3 separate regions of the Homo sapiens genome follow, and regions 2 and 3 are each linked to region 1. The links are contacts of gene promoters, found by promoter capture Hi-C in blood cells and fetal thymus (Javierre and others, 2016). All regions are on one chromosome and are shown on one strand. Each heading gives the region's core, a stretch centred on a gene start or on the middle of the fragment in contact. The rest is flanking DNA. Distances are from core to core; before and after follow the strand shown.

Region 1 (2,822 bases), core at 198-2,697:
TAAGCTCTTCTCTGACATTGCCTAACTTAATTCTCACATAGAGTAGGTACATTATTATCCCCATGTTATAAATGTTGTCCTGGGATTCAGAGAAGTTAAGTAATTTGCCCAAGGCTGCACAGCGGGGAGGTGGCAGACCTGCACTGGGCTCTGTCTAATGCTGCACTGCATGTGTCCACTAGCCATGCCCCACTGCCCATCTGGGTTTCAGGAGAAGACAGTGCTCACACACTGTGCTTTTCACTCACTGGGTATGATGCCCCCTGAGCTGGGCAAAGGGCAAAGGGCAGGGCCCTTGAGGAATTTCGGAGAAAACGAGATGAAAGGGAAGACAGGAGGGCCTGGGGGAACACCAGGAGGGTCCCGGGTCAAGGTGGCCCTGGGACATCCGAAGGGCTGCCACTGATGTCATGGAAAAGCCCCTCACCCCACACCTTAAGGTTGCCTGTCACATTCGGCTCCTGAATCTACAATAGCCATCAAGGAAATCCACTTCCCAAGGCCGACTGTCAGGGCATTCTAGCACCTGGGTCTTTGCCTGTGTGGATTAGGGAAATGGAAGGAGTTCCCATACCGGAGCTTGCCTAAGCTGTCTCCTAGGCAAAGACTTACTGTGAGGCCATGGGGCCCCAGAGCTGGAGGAGGCTGACAGGGAGCTTGTTTCGCCCCTCACACACCCTCCACCACCCTGCTGCAGCTTCCCTAAAAGTGGCTAATGTTCCTCTGATAAAATGTTCAACTCTGATGCCACATTGCTCCTTATATTAAAAAAAAAAGGCAAAACACAGCTGAAGTGATCTCTAGAAGCACATCCAGTCATCTCTAGAAGCCTGCAAAGAGGCCTCACTGACCTTTCCTTGCTTGTAGACATCGCCTCGTCTTTGTCCCAGGGTGGCTATGAGCATCTGGACCCCCTCACCCCACTCTCTCTGCCTCCTGAGCACAGTGAACTCAGACTGACTTTCTCCAAAGAGATCCAAGCATGAAGCAAATATTCATTAGTCTCCTAAATAGGGCCATACTCCACATCATTCCTTTTTTAAGGAGAAATCTTAAATAAGATTAATGGCATAATAGATCATTTCAGGTGAGTCAAATAAAAAAAATAAAAGCACAGCATTCTTGAGAAAGAGATTAGTTTTCATAGGCAGAAGCTTAAAGGCAAAACAAAATCCCAACCCACAAACCCTAAAGTAGCATTTTATTATAGCACCAACTTAGAGAAAGGCAAGCCCAGTGATGACTGGGTATCCTCGCAAGTCTACCCTGAACTTGGGACCCATCCCCAGGTGTGGGAGTAAAGAAATCATTGCATGATTTTCAATCTGGGATCGAGCCTTGATAAGAAACCAGCAGTCCTGACCACAGAAGTGGCCCCCCACGTACCTTGGCTCTCTCTGGAGTGTGCCTCTGGAGCCTCGAGCTGCACAGTCCCCCAGCACACCCTCTTGGCAGCCAGGTCCGCCCAGCTATATAGGAGCTGCCGGGGGAGGTGGCATTCCTGCAGGTCTCCAAATAAGGCAGCCCTTCCCTCCCCGGCAGACCAATCAGGGCTTCCTGGACCACTCCTTCATCCTGAGAAGGATGGACCTTCTCATCACACTTTACTAAGGAAACCACGTGAAAATCTTGATGAAGTTCAGCAAGGCTTCAGAGGTGCCTTTTAGAATTGGAATGAGATGTGTTAGAAGGAAAATGCTTTTCCCATCAATATCTATGACAGATGTGGCTTCAACAAGCCTCGCTGGACATGCATAGTGTCCTGTACCTAAAGGCCGGCCTTGGACAGCAAAGCAGTCTTTGCTGACAGCCTCTGTGGGGAGGTTCAGCTCAAAAAGAGGGCAAGCGTTCACCTGGACCACCACGCCCTGAGGATGGGACCAACAGGGTGTGTGTGTGGTGGTGGGGGGGGGGGGCGCCGGGGGGCGGTTACACTTTCATCGGGTAGTGGGAAAACAGAACTGGTAGGTATGGGGTGGAAGACACGTGAGAAGACTTCCTGGCATGTTGGGCGAGGAATGCTTGAAGGACTGAATTAGCCCAAAGGCCAATAAGTTAAAGATCTGCGGGAACCCCGGGAGCAGAGACACATTGACACGCAGCCAGTCCCCTGGACAGGTGGTGCGGGCTGAGGGCGAGTTCTGCAGAGTGCCTTCTCCTCTACATGGTGTCCGAGCGCTGCGCAGAAGGGGCTGGAGGTGCATTCCTGGGCTTTCCAAAGCAAGAGACTCATTGGTATTGGGTGACCATTTTGGGCCTTATACAGAAGGGACTTGCTCAGGTGTCCCTGTTACAGTTAGTACTGCAAGGCAAAGTCAAAAGTGAATATGGGAGCAAGTATGGGGCCAGATTTTCCTGTAAACAGAATGCGATTTTTATGCTGAATGTGACCCCGTCAGTGTTCACGGTGGATTTGCGTCAGAGCAATTTTGCAAACCAAATTAAACGGTTGTTATCGAGAAGGACAGCAGATAGCGCCAGAGAGCTGACAAAGACCGCAGCCGGTCGGTGGGAAACCCGGGCTTCTGGGCTCTGGGTGGATTTGGGGCCTCCGGTTGGGCCTTTCTTTCTCCTCTGACTTTAACATTTGTTTCACTTCCCCACTTTTTTTTTTTTAAGAACTTTTCTATTTCCTTTCTAGAACCACAGACTTTTTGTGCTTCTGAATACACACAAAACAGAAACACAGTAGTGTAATCTTAGTACAGACTGTTTGCAAAATGGAGATGAAAAAATCAAAATCTCCTAATAGTTCAGTACCCAGAGACAAATGTCAGGACAATTTTGTTTCACATATAGATACTTAGGGCCACAGTGTTTAG
Region 2 (2,822 bases), core at 195-2,694, 240 kb before region 1:
CCTGCCTCCAGCCCTTCTGACCTTTCATCTTGTGCTTCTCGTTAGCACTGGATTCTGCTTCTGGATTTCTGCTTTGGTCTCTTTTATATCTGCTTCCTTCCCTCCTCTCAGTTCTGTGTGTGGAAAATTAGGTTATGGCACCTGCTCCCCATCATGTAATCTGCCCAGCTGACTGTGTAGGATATTAATAATAGGGTTGTCTTTGATGTTTGGATAAAGATGGCCATGCCTGTGTGTGTGTGTGTGTGTGTGTGTGTGTGTGTGTGTGTGTGTGTGTAAAACTATCAAAAGTTTACACATCCATAGGATGTGATCTTATGATTACCCTGGTTGTGTGCACTGAAATAGCATTTTCTCTTTCCCTGGTATCCACGTATTTTAGACTAGCAGTGCCTAATACCATTATAATGGAAGTCACATATGTAATTTTGAGGTAGCTACATTAAAGGAAAACAAGAACAATTAATTTTAGTAATATATTTTATAAGCTGATATATTAAAAATAGTATTTCAACACAATCAATATAAAGTTATTAATGAGATATTTGCATTCTTTTTTATTTTCATAGCAACCCTTTGAAGTCTATTGTATATGTTACATTCATAGCACATACCAGTTGGACCAACACGTTTAAGATGCTCAGTAGCCACCTGGGGCTGGTGGCTCCCGCATTGGATAGCACAGTTTAAACCCCACATAGCTTTACTTACCACTGAGCAATATGTTTTCAACTTCCAAGCTCTTGGATTTTTCAGTATTTCATAATGTAAGCCCCTTCTATTTCAGGGACTATGTAATAATACATACTCACACTTGAATGATGCTACTAAAGCTTCCCCTTCCTCACCTTTTTCCTTTCAAATTTAGATTTTCTGTTGCCTGGAAAATGCACATGAACCAGTTCAACAAGTAAATTGATCTCCCCTGCTGCCCCCTACCCCAGTCTATATGTATATTTTTCTTTTTTACCCAAGAATCACAAATACGTTCTATAGCTTATAATTTTATTTTTTTGGAGGGGACAGGGTCTCCCTCTGTTATCCAAGCTGGAGTATGGTGGTATGATTATAGCTCACCGCAGCCTTGATCTCCTGATCTTCCCTTTTTTTTTTTTTTTTTGAGATGGAGTCTCACTCAGTCACCCAGGGTGGAGTGCAGTGGCACAATCTTGGGTCACTTTAACCTCTGCCTCCCAGGTTCAAGCAATTCTCCTGCCCCAGCCTCCTGAGTAGCTGGAATTACAGGCGCATGCCACCACGCTCAGCTAATTTTTGTATTCTTAGTAGAGATGGTGTTTCTCCACATTGGCCACACTGGTCTCCAACTCCTGACCTCAAGTGATCTGCCTCCCTTGGCCTCCCAAAGTGCTGGGATTACAGGCTTGAGCCACCGCGCCCGGCTGAGGGTGATGCTTCCTCTTCAGCTTGCCTGGTAGCTGGGACTACAAGCATGCACCACCATACCTGGCTAATTTTTTGTAGAGACGGGGTTTTGCTGTGTTACCCAGGCTGGTCTCGAACTTCTGGGCTCAAGTGATACGCCTGCCTTGGCCTCCCAAAGTACTGGGATTACAAATGTGAGCCACTGGGCCCAGCCAGTTTATAATTTTGACAAGTTAAAGTTTGGTTGCAATGAATGAGTCTCATTTCTTTTTCAAATAAAGAAGATCTAGGAAATGTGAAGAAGTATAGTAACTAATGTTAGATAAAGACAGCCCTTGGAAGAGTTGAGATCCAAGAATAAAAAGGATTTAAGGAAAATCAGGAACCCCTGAACACAGTAGGTTTACCGAGTATGAAGAGCGCTTACCTTTTGACCACACCTTTGGTTTCCTAAGTTACTCAGGTGCCATCAGCAAGCCCTTAGGAATGATAAATTTAGGCTCCTGGTTACCAGGAAACTCTAGCCCTCCCAGCGCTCTCTCCGGGAGCACACTGACTATATCAATAGGGTGTTTTTTCTCAGCACTGGTGTTGACTGCCAGAATTTCTCTTCTAGTTTGTCTTACCTGTATATTTATTTCAGTGTTGTCCTTAGATAATGGCTCAAGCTTTTAAGAATTATGAAAGTGACATATGTACACTGTAGAAAAATAAGGGGAAAAAAAACCACATATAATCCCATCATCTGGAGATAATCATGTACTATTTTGGTGTTTTCCTCCATTTTCCTTTCTTTTTTTTTTTCTTCTTTTCCCTTCTCTTCTACTCTTCTCTTCCTTCCTTTTTTTCTTTTCTTCTTTTTTTTTTTTTTGAGACAGAGTCTTGCTCTCATCACCCAGGCTGGGATGCAGTGGTGCGATCTCACTGCAACTCTACCTCCCGGGTGCAGGGGATCCTCCTGCCTCAGCCTCCTGAGTAGCTGGGACTGCAGGAGTGTGCTACCACACCTGGCTAATTTTTTGGTGTCCCTTCATTTTCTGCATGTGTGCACACACTGAAATGGGATTATCAGGTTTGTTTTGTAAGCCTGTCTTTTTCTCAGCTTAATAATGCACTCCTTACGTTGCCACGTCAGTCACCCATGTTTTAATCTCTGTAATATGCTCATATAAGAATGTGCCCACAATTGTACCAACCAGTCCTCTATTTTAGGCATTAATATTTTCCCCTCCGGTTTTGGATTACTCTTAAGCATTATTTTAATGAACACTCACAAAATGAAAAATTTAAGCCTGTTTTAATTATTTTGCTAGGATAAATTCCTTAAGAGTAAAATTGTTAGGTCAAAGGCTATGTGTATTTTTAGAGCCTTTGATTGGTGATGTTAAATTACCATCTAAAAATGTTATGTCTGGGTGCAGTGGTTCACGCCTATAATC
Region 3 (2,822 bases), core at 223-2,722, 220 kb before region 1:
GTGAAACCCTGTCTCTACTAAAAATACAAAAATTAGCCGGGTGTGGTGGGGCACACCTGTAATCCCAGCTGCTTGGGAGGCTGAGGCAGAGAGTTGTTTGAACCCGGGAGGTGGAGGTTGCAGTGAGCTGAGACTGCACCACTGCACTCCAGCCTGGGCGACGGAGCAAGACTCCATCTCAACAAACAAACAAACAAAAATACAGGTTCCCAAGCCCCCAAGGTAGGTCTATAGGATTAGAATATGAGGAGGGGACATTTTTAAAATTGGTGGGATTACAGGGTTTTTTAATTCTTTTAGTCTTCTAAAGTCAATTTTATTGCGATAGTGTTTACATAGAGCAAGTGGATATACATCCAAATGGAGCCACCAGAATCACAGTCAAAACAGTAGATTTCTATCATTCCAAAGGTTCCATCCTTTCCCTGGGGAGCCCTTTCCTCCATTCTTGCCCTAGGTAACCACTCTCCGCTTCCCGTAGAATGGTTTGTCTTTTGAGAATCAGACTGCATGTCTCGTGTCTGGCTGCTTTAACGAAATGTCTGTGCAGCTCCCTTGTGCTGTCGGGCACGTCAGCAGACGCTCTCTGGTTTGTTGCTAACTAGCATGCCTTTTGATGGACCCACCATGATTTGCTTACCCGTCCACCTCTTGATGGCTCTTTGGATGTTTCTAGTTTGGGGCTGTTATAAATAAAACAGTGTCAAATTTTTGTCTTACATGTATTTGTGTGAAAGAAATCTGTCTTTTTTTTTTTTTTTTTGAGACAGAGTCTGACTCTGTTGCCTGGGCTGGAGTGTAGTCGTGCAGTCTCAGCTCACTGCAACCTTTACCTTCTGGACTCAAGCCATCCTCCCACCTCAGTCTCCTAAATAACTGGGACTACAGGCGGATACCACCATGCCTGGCTAATTTTTCTGTTTTTTTTTTTTGGTAGAAATGGGGTTTCGTCACGTTGCCCAGGCTGGTCTTGAACTCCTGGGCTCAAGCGATCCGCCTGCCTCAGCCTCCCAAAGTGCTGGGATTGCAGGTGTGATCCACCGTGCCTGGCCCAGAAGTGTATATTTTAAATAAGCTTCCCATGTGAGTCTTAAGCACATGAGCCACTGATTCTTATTCTGGCTCTTCCTCTCTCTCGTATCCTTTTGGAGAAGTGTGGGTTTTTGTCTAGAGCAAATGATGGATTTGCCATGGATTTATATTTCTGATATAGTATTTATTCAGTGCCGTCTACTTGGAGTAAATGTAAATTTCATTAGCATTTATGGAACATCTATCTTCTCCACACCGCCCCACCCCCCGCCCTGTGTACTTCCTTGTAAAGAGCATCTGTCTATTCTGTACTAGGAGCTGGGAATATAAAGATGAATTTTATGTTTTATTTTTTGTAGAGTCAGAGTCTCGCTATGTTGCTCAGGCTGATCTCGAACTCTTGGCCTCAAGCAATCTTCCCAACTAGGCCTCCCAAAGCGTTGGGAGTCACTGTGCCCAGCCTTAAAGATGAATTTTACATAGGGGGATTCTACTCTTTGGGCAGACTATTAGTGATTAATTCATTCAGCCATTGGAGGGTTTCTGTGTTACCTGCTCACTCTGCTAGGTGCTGATCATGAAAGGACAGGTTTTTCTTAGGATTTGGTGGTTCTTTCGAGAAACACAGAAGGTTTTGGTATTTAACTCCACGAATAGCTCAGCTCTGAAAACTTCTGGACAGTGCCATCACATTTCTCCTTCAGGTGGCCCTGCTAAGCCACAGTGAGAGGGGTGACTCTGTTTCCTGGACAGGGAGAGATGGTCGGATAAAATGAAGTTCAAAAGAAATCATTACAGGCTGAATAGCTGATGAAACAAGTACTGATTAAAAGCTTCTGCATTTGTGCGTGATTGTTGGTGGGTGGAGAGCTAGTGATTCAGTCCTTAGGGAATTGGAAGATTTGTTACACGTCTAAATATTTTATTTTACTTTTCTACTTCCTCATAACAGAATTTTCCAGATGGCTGATTTTTTTTATCTGTCAGGTTTACATTTATTTCCAGGCGACTTTTTTTTTTTTTTTTTTTTTGAGACTGTAGCGATTTCCTGCTTCCTTTAAGGTAGTGATTTTTAACTTTGGCTGCAGGGAGCTTTAAGAAATCTAGATACCAAGTATAATTTGTAGCACCTTGGCTTTTCTCCACTCTCTTCTGAAACCCAAAGTTATTTTAGAACTTTAAACATGAGGACATTATTCCGCACTGCTGTATCCTGAGCTCACAGCAGAAAGGACTGAATTGATTTGCTTGCATTACATTGTAAAGGGGGTAGATGCTGTAAGGGGAACCAGCCTTTCCCCTGGACTTGAGTCTGAGGAGTAAGGAAGAACTGGTGCTAATGTGGACACCATGAGGCTCTTAGGGGTGAAATTGGGCCCATCTTTTGTAGTTAAGTTAGTTTAGAAAATATAGAGGAGTAAAAACAGGAAAATAAGTCATTTGTGTTTCTATCACTCAACATTTTGGTTAACATTTTGGTGTGTGTATACATGGCCACATACTTTACACATACACAGTGGGTTAATGCTGTACATACTATCTTTTTCATTATATATATTGCTTTTAATTCTTTTCACTTATGAAATAACTTTTTTCACTCAAAACTAGTATCTTCTACCATTCTTTTTATTTTTTTATTTTTATTATGATAAGAACATTTAACACGAGATCTACCTTATTAACAACTTTTTTTTTTTTTTCCTCGAGACAGAGTCTCACCCTGTCACCCAGACTGGAGTGCCGTGGTGGGATCTTGGCTTACTGCAACCTCTGCCTCCTGGGTTCAAGTG

The links. Contacts are between HindIII fragments. The CHiCAGO score rates a contact against its expected background, and 5 or more counts as called.
Region 2: a contact is called between a fragment that was not itself captured here and the fragment with the promoter of PRND in region 1, in 1 of 17 cell types (naive B cells). The highest score is 5.2, in naive B cells.
Region 3: a fragment that was not itself captured here is called in contact with the fragment with the promoter of PRND in region 1 in 1 of 17 cell types (total B cells); the score reaches 5.5 in total B cells.

The regions. Positions count from the first base shown.
Region 1 is chr20:4,720,534-4,723,355 of GRCh38, reverse strand. PRND (prion like protein doppel) reads right to left here and starts at 1,447. Exons shown (of 2, transcript NM_012409.4): 1 at 1,387-1,447. RefSeq lists an enhancer at 2,525-2,744. The HindIII fragment of the contact is 8,148 bases long and covers 1,157-2,822 here.
Region 2 is chr20:4,964,265-4,967,086 of GRCh38, reverse strand. All of the region lies in intron 2 of SLC23A2 (solute carrier family 23 member 2), which reads left to right. Among named protein-coding and RNA genes, the nearest start is that of SLC23A2, 36 kb to the left of the region's middle. The HindIII fragment of the contact is 1,218 bases long and covers 836-2,053 here.
Region 3 is chr20:4,941,616-4,944,437 of GRCh38, reverse strand. All of the region lies in intron 2 of SLC23A2 (solute carrier family 23 member 2), which reads left to right. Among named protein-coding and RNA genes, the nearest start is that of SLC23A2, 58 kb to the left of the region's middle. The HindIII fragment of the contact is 790 bases long and covers 1,078-1,867 here.